Linked DNA regions of Homo sapiens: region 1 is linked to region 2. Evidence: promoter capture Hi-C in 16 types of primary human blood cells and fetal thymus (Javierre and others, 2016). All regions are on one chromosome and are shown on one strand. Each heading gives the region's core, a stretch centred on a gene start or on the middle of the fragment in contact. The rest is flanking DNA. Distances are from core to core; before and after follow the strand shown. Region 1 overlaps LOC100630923 (LOC100289561-PRKRIP1 readthrough). Region 2 holds the start of CUX1 (cut like homeobox 1).

Region 1 (3,863 bases), core at 1-2,500, 570 kb after region 2:
CCTGGGCGACAGCGAGACTCCGTCTCAAAAAAATAAATAAAATAAAATAAAATAAAAATTAGCCAGGCGTGGTGATGTGCTCCTGTAGTCCCAGCTACTCAGGAGGCTGAGTTGGGAGGTTCACTTGAGCCCAGGAGGTTGAGGCTGCAGTGAGTTATGATTGCCCCACTGCCCTCCAGCCTGGATGACACAGCGAGACTCTGTCTCAAAAATAATAATAATAAGTAAACCAATAAATAAAAAGAAGTGTGGGGGCTTCAACCACATTGGCCTCTGGGTTTTCAAAAACCTGTCACCCCAAGCCTTGGCCTTATGGTGAGCAGGGCAGATTTACAGGCCCGAGCTGCCTCAGAGGGCACAAGGAGCTAAAGGCTGAACTCCTCACGAAAGCAACTCAGACAATGGAGGGTTAGCTCCCCTGCAACCTGGCAAATCCACACTGTAAATTAGGTCAAGTTTATTGAGGTACAATGTTCATATGATTAAATCCACCCTTTTAAAGTATATGGTTCAAGTCCAGGCACAGTGGCTCACACCTGTAATCCCAGGACTCTGGTTTGAGACCAGCTTGGGCAACATAGTGAGACCCCCATCTCTACAAAAAAACAAAACCAAAAAATACAAAAATTAGCTGCACATGGTGGTGCGTGCCTGTAGTCCCAGCTACTCGGGAAGCTGAGATGGGAGGATTGCTTGAGGCTGAGAGGCAGAAGTTACAGTGAGCAGAGATCGAGACACTGCACTCCAGTGTGGGCGACAGAGTGAAACTCTGTCTATGAATAAATAAATAGAAGTATATGGTTAAATAAGTTTGATAAATGTGGATGGTTGTGTAGCTGCCACCACAATTCAGATATAGAACATTTTTGTCATCCAAATATTATGCAGAGAGGCCAGGTGCAGTGGATCATGCCTATAATCCCAGTGCTTTGGGATTCTGGGGATAGAAGGATCACTGGAAGCCAGGAGTTTGAGACCAGCCTGGGCAATACAGCAAGACATCATCTCTACAAAAATAATAATAATAATAAAGTAAAAATAGCCAGGTGTGGTGGTGTGCACCAATAGTCCCAGCTATTCAGGAGGCTGTGGCAGGAGGATCACTGAAGCCCAGGAGTTTGAGGCTGCAATGGGCTATGGTCACGCCACTGCGCTCCAGTCTAGGCAACAGAGTGAGACACCATCTCAAAAGAAGGAAAGAAGGTAGGAAGGGAGGAAGGGAGGGAGGGAGGGAGGGAGGGGAAAAAATATCTATTACCCAAGAAAGTTCCCTGAGGCCCTCCCAGGTCAGTCCCGTCCTCCTACTTGGCCCATGGCAACTGCTGATCTGTTTTCCATCCCTATCATTTTGGCTTTTCCAGAACATCAAGTAAATGGAACCATTCAGGTTGTGGCCTTCTATTAATAGATCTGACTTCACTCACTAAACATAATGCATCTGAGATCCATCCACGTTATTGCAAGCCTCAAGAGGTCCTTCCTTCCTTTTTCTTTTTTCTTTTTCTTTTTTTTTTTTTTGAGATGGAGTCTCACTCTGTCGCCCAGGCTGGAGTGCAGTGGCACGAGCTCGGCTCACTGCAAGCTCCGCCTCCCGGGTTCACGCCATTCTCCTGCCTCAGCCTCCTGAATAGCTGGGACTATTGGTGCACACCACCACACCTGGCTAATTTTTTTGTATTTTTAGTAGAGACTGGGTTTCACCCTGTTAGCCAGGATGGTCTTGATCTCCTGACCTCGTGATCTGCCCGCCTCGGCCTCCAAAAGTGCTGGGATTACAGGCATGAGCCACCACACCTGGTCCCCTTTTTTTTTGAGATGGGGTCTCACTGTCGCCCAGGCTGAGTGCAGTGGTATGATATCTTAATCCACCTTCTTAATCCGACTCACTGCAACCTCCGCCTCCTGGGTTCAAGCAATCCTCCTGCCTCAGCCTTCCAAGTACCTGAGATTACAGGTGCACACCACCATGCCCAGCTAATTTTTGTATTTTTAGTAGAGATAGGCTTTCATCTTGTTGGCCAGGCTGGTCTTGAACTCCCGGCCTCAAGTGATCCTCCCTCTTCAGCCTCCTAAAGTGCTGGGATTACAGTCATGAGCCACCGCACTCAGCAAAAGCTCCTTCCTTTTATTGCTAAGTAGTATTTCCCTGTAGGTCTAGATCTCAATTTGATGGACATATGGGTTGTTTCCAGTTTTTGGCAATTATGAATCAAGCTACTGTTTGTATTTGCATACAGGTCAGTCAGTGGACATATATTTTCATTTCTCTAGTTTGAGACCAGCCTGGGTAACGAGAGTGAAACTCTGTCTCAAAAAAAAAAAGAAAAGAAAAGAAAAAAAGAAAAAAGAAAAAAAACCCTGCTGTTTTAGTACTTAAAGTATCAACCACTACTCAAAGAATTGAGATAGGAGTACCCACTCGTCTAGGGTAATCAACCATCCTGGCTTGCCCAAGATTCTCCTGGTTTTAGCACTGAAGGTCCCACTTTCTGGGAAACCCTTCAGTCCTAGGATCAAACTAGGACAAGTGTGGTCACCTATTTTTTTTTTTTTTTTTCAGACAGAGTCTCTCTCTGTCTCCCAGGCTGGAGTGCAGAGGTGCGATTTTGGCTCAGTACAGCCTCCGCCTCCTGGGCTCAAGCAATTCTCCTGCCTCAGCCTCCCGAGTAGGTGGGATTACAGGCAGCTCCCCCCACCCCACACGCCCGGCTAATTTTTTTTGTATTTTTAGTAGAGACGGAGTTTCACCATGTTGGCCAGGCTGGTCTCGAACTCCTGACCTCAGATCATCCACCTGCCTCAGCCTCCCAAAGTGCTGGTATTACAGGCGTGAGCCATGTTATTGAATGTCAGGCTCTGCTGGACACTGCATGTCCAAACGTCATTTTACCCATGTGCCAGCGACAAGGTAGATTCGCTTGTACCAATTTTGCACATAAGGAAACAGCCTTAGAGAGGTTAGGTTGCTTGTGCAAGCCCAGGGTAGGTGGCACCCAGTCTGCCAGTCTGCAACGCACTGGTATCTTCCAGCCAGTAGACCTTGCTCCCTGGGTGCCCAGTTCTGGATCTCAGGAAAGGTGGATTAAGGCTCCTAGTGGCGGGACCTGGGTGGGGATTTGCTGCCCTCTGGTGGCAGAAGGGACATCACCCTGGGTGTGAGACTTGTGGGCATCTGTGAGGCGGCCTTTCATCCCAGGGAGCCGGACCTCAAATCTGACCTCAGCCCCAGGAAGGTGCCACCAGGAAGGTGCCACCTAGGAGGGTGCCACCAGGGTTCCCGCCAGGGTCTGCTGGGGCCCTGTCCCATCTGTGTGAGTCACATAATCACTCAGGCTGTCACAGACCCAGGGCTAGACTGCTGGGTTTGAGTCTGTGTGGCCCTGAGCCAATTGCTTTCTCCTCTGGGCCTCAGTTCCATTTCAGTAGAATCAGGATGATAGCCTGGGCAACATAGCAAGACTCCAGCTCTACCAAATAAATAAATAAATAAATAAATAAATAAATAAATAAATAAAATATTAGGCTGGGCAAGGTGGCTCACGCCTGTAATCCCAGCACTTTGGGAAGCTGAGGCGGGTGGATCACCTGAGATCAGGAGTTCGGGGCCAGCCTGGCCAACATGACGAAACCCTGTCTCTACTAAAAATACAAAAATTAGCCGGGCATGGTGGCGGGTGCCTGTAATCCCAGCTACTCAGGAGGCTGAGGCAGGAGAATCGCTGGAACCTGGGAGGCAGAGGTTGCAGTGAGCCGAGATCGCGCCATTGCACTCCAGCCTGGGTGACAAGAGAGAAACTCCCTCTCAAAAAATAAAAATAAAAAGTTAGCTGAGTGTGGTGGCACCAGCCTGTTGTCATAGCTAC
Region 2 (3,811 bases), core at 630-3,129:
AGGGGAGGGGGAGGGCGGCGGTGGGGGGGTTGGGGGAGCAGGGGCCGGGGCCGCGCGCGCGAGGCCGGGCCGCGGCCGCCGCGCCCTGGGGCTGCGACTCCGGCTCCGGCTCGGGCTCGCCATGGCTGCGGCGGTGCCGTGAGGAGGAGTCCGCGTCCTCGGTGGCGGCGGCGGCGGCCGGCTCCAGGCCGGGTTTTGGCGCCGCCCGCCTGCTGCCTCCTGGCGGCTCCTGAACTCCAGCCCCCTCTCTATCAGCCGCTCACTCCGTCTCAATATGTCTCAAGATGGCGGCCAATGTGGGATCGATGTTTCAATATTGGAAGCGCTTTGATTTACAGCAGCTGCAGGTCAGGCTCCTCCGCGCTCGGCCTCGCGCCCGGGGGTGGGGGCTGCGGGCGGTCGCGGCCTCCGCCGGGGGCCCCGGGCTGGCCCAGCCGCCGGGGGGCCCGCGGCGGCGGGGAGGAGGGGGGTGCCGGGCACCGCGGGGCCGAGTCGGGGCCGAGTCCCTCCCGCTCCCCGGCCCCCATTGATCACTCGCTTGATCGGAAATTGATCCTCTTTGTTCAATTCATCGATCAGCCCAAGATGGCGCCGGGAGCCGCCGCCGCCACCACTGCCCCCGGTGTCTGCCCCCACCCCGGGCGCCCCCCCGGGCCCCGCGCCGCCGCCGCCGCCAGCGCCGCCGCCGCCGTTGCCGCCGCGGGACCGGGGAGGGGGCGGCCCCGGCGGCCCGCGGGGTGCGCGCGCGAGCGGGGAGCGGGGAGCGGGCGGCGGGGGGCGGGCGGCGGCGGGCGCCGGGAGGGGGCCGCGGCCCGGCGGTGGCGCCCGCCCGCCCGCTCGCCCCGCGCCCCCGGCCCGCCGTATTCCCGGGGAAAGTTTGTGGGGAGTTGCTGCGGGGGGTGAAGCGCCTGCCTCTCCAGGAGGAGCCGCCGCCACTGCCGCCGGCGCGGCGGAGCTGGGGCTGGTGGCGCTGTGGTGCCGCCGGCTCGGGGGAGGGTCAGAGCGGCCACCGGCGGCGGCGGCGGCGGCGCGGCCCGGCTCCGGCCAGGCGGGCGGGTGGCCGGGCAGGCGCCCGCGCTCGCTACCCCCGGCCGGCCCCGGCCGCCGCCCCCGGCTGTCACCGGCCCGGGCCGCGCCGCCGCTCCGGCACCCCGCGTGTGGCTCCCGGCGCGGACCCCCGGGTTTGTTTACGTCCCGGGGAGCGCCCCGGGGCCACCCGCGCACCTCGCGGCCGCCGCGCTCTTTTGTGTGCCTGTGTCGGTGACGCGGACCTGTTCCTCCGTGGCGGACCCCCGCGGGGGCTCTTTGGGGAAACTTGGCGAGGGGCGGCGGGGGTGCCCCGCGCGCAGTGTCGCTGGGTCCCGGTGTCCCGGACCGCCGGGTGCGGGCGCGGGAGGAGGAGGCTGCAACTTTCCCCTAGGCAGGCCCCAAGCTGTTCCCCCGGGTGCCCGGGCAGTGTACGCTGCCTCCCCGCCGCCGGTCCGAGCCGCGATCGCCGCGCGCCTGGGGGCTCCGGCGGCCCCCGGTGACCTGCGGCGCCGGGTCCCTTCCTTGCGTCCCCTCGGGGCTTCTGCCCTCTCTGCAGGGCCCGCCATGGAGCGCGCGGCGGGTGCGCTCGGAGATGCCTTCTCGGGCCGGGTTCTCGAAAGCAGAGCCCCGGGGGCCCGTTGGGACCGTGGCATGCCGGGCGGTGGTCCGCGCGCGGAGTCCCCGGCGCCGCGGGGGGACCGTGCCGGGGCTCCCCGGCCCGCGCCCGAGTCGCCGCCGTGCCCAAGGGGCGAGTGCCTGCCTGCCACCCCCCGCCCGGAGGAGCGGCGCACCCTTAGGGTCCGCCCCGCACGTGCCAGCTCGGCGCCCGCGGCGCCGGGACAGCCCCGGGACTCTGCCAGGTGGATGTTGTGCGTAGCCGGAGCCAGGTTGAAGGTGAGCGGCGTGTGGGCCAGAAGTCCCGAGGTTGCAGGCGCGGAGGGAACCGGGGATGTCGGGGGGTGCCCGGGTCCCGCGGCTTAGAATGCTCTAGGGCGGCCTGGTGCTCTGGGAGGGGATAGGAGGGTTCCTCAGGGCCCCTGGGGAACTGCAGCTACTCCCAACTGCTAAGGTGTGCGTGAAGATAAACTTGGCTGAACTTTCCTAACCTGGAGGACTGGTGACAGTGACCTACCGCAATACCTTTGGGAGCAAAGCTCGAGATGCAGGCTTGTATCAAACGAAGCGGGTTGGATTAAAACATATTTAAATGGAATCTGACAACTTTAATTGTATATGCTTGTTTTCTGCTCTTGCCTACTAAGAACGATAAAGCCGAGTCATAGTCGTTATGAAATTTCCTGAAATTTCTCGCTTAACTAGGAAGAAGACTATGCGAAATATGTATTTCCGATAAGATTAAAACTTAAAGGAGTTTAAGTATTTATTGACTAAAATAGATTACTCCAAAGTGTCTATTGTGTAAATTAGATTCCTGGATGTAATGAACACAGCCGAATGGCATTTTTGATAAATTGGTCTACCCTGTTTTAGTAAAAATAGCTCCCTTTTACCATAATTTAATTCCTGTGCTTACTGTAAAACCCGTTGTGGAGTTTTAAGGACAAACATTATTATTATTTTTCTCTCTTGTCTTCCTAAATGTGACATCCTAGCTTAATATCAATGAAGTGTCTTTTTTAAAGCATCCTGGCAAAATTGCCTGGAAAATGGATTTGGTTTCTAGAGTTACTAGATTTTAAGAACTCTAAACCTTCCTGTCCCCCATATTAGCTACTTCTTCAGGGGATCAGGGCTCCAGGGTTCCATCGAAAGTTTCCATGTCAGTTTACTTGCACTTTATGTGGATATTAAGAAGAAATCAAAACCAAACCCCAAAACAAAGTCCCTTATTTGAACTTCATTCCTCTTTACTCCTTTGCTTTTGGTGGTTGCTAACGATTTGGCCTTAGATGATTTCCTATGGGTTTGCAAACTTTAGTCGAATACGGAATGTCAAAGTTCAAGTCTCAGGCCAATCTGGTTCTTTCTCTGGGCGGTGAGGAGGCCTTTGGAGTTGGTGTCTGGTTAATTCCCACCGATAGTCAGTGAGTCAATAGAACGAGTTTGGGAGAGAATTCATTAGTTCCAGATTTTTCTCATTTTTCCAGACCTCTTTATACTGAGATTGGGTTGCCACCTGGGGGTAAAGAGGCTGATCGGTCTTTGCAGAGAGAAATCCAGGTTGGAGACGTCAGCGGGTCCAGGTGAGGTTGGGCCGTTCCGCAGTTCTGCAACCCTGGCTCACTGGGTTCTTGTCCCTCGGCTTCCTGGGTCTTGAAGCTGCTGCCTTGGCACAGGAGTGTGTGCTCAGGAAGAGAATTTCTGAAGATTGTGTTTTATTCCGTTTCCTTTTTAGTCCCAAAGGCTTGTGGTATGGAAGTTTCAGTGCTTTGGTATTGCTAAGACTAGTTGGACAAGTTTTTTATCCTATCTCAGACTTGTAAAAACCAGGTTTTCTTTTCTTTTTAAATAAGAAAAGCACTGTTGTATAAATTTGTCTTTTAAATACATATTTGAAAGGAGGACACTTTCTAAGACAAAGCTCATGGCACTCTGTATGTTAGTGGAGCTTTGAACTCTTTGGGACGGGGCCCGCCAATGACTGCCTTCCCTTTGGGACATTATTCCCACATGGTGACCAGCCTTCCCCTTTAAGCAGCTTCTGCAAAAGTAAACTTGAAAAGTTGCCTTCTTTTTCAGAATCAAAAAACAATTTCAGTTTTGCTGAAAGTCCATTTTCTGATGGCTTTTTTTCCCCCTGTTGTGGAAGTGTGTATGTTAC

What was found. Contacts are between HindIII fragments. The CHiCAGO score rates a contact against its expected background, and 5 or more counts as called.
Region 1: a fragment that was not itself captured here is called in contact with the fragment with the promoter of CUX1 in region 2 in 1 of 17 cell types (neutrophils); the score reaches 8.3 in neutrophils.

Annotation. Positions count from the first base shown.
Region 1 is chr7:102,387,795-102,391,657 of GRCh38, forward strand. The region is part of intron 4 of LOC100630923 (LOC100289561-PRKRIP1 readthrough); the gene reads left to right. Among named protein-coding and RNA genes, the nearest start is that of PRKRIP1, 6.6 kb to the right of the region's middle. The HindIII fragment of the contact is 9,075 bases long and covers 1-3,863 here.
Region 2 is chr7:101,815,747-101,819,557 of GRCh38, forward strand. CUX1 (cut like homeobox 1) reads left to right here and starts at 1,880. Exons shown (of 24, transcript NM_181552.4): 1 at 1,880-1,923. The coding sequence starts at 1,894. RefSeq lists silencers at 890-1,049, 1,160-1,479, 1,550-1,629, 1,660-1,729, 1,780-1,829 and 2 more and an enhancer at 136-1,064. The HindIII fragment of the contact is 10,531 bases long and covers 1-3,811 here.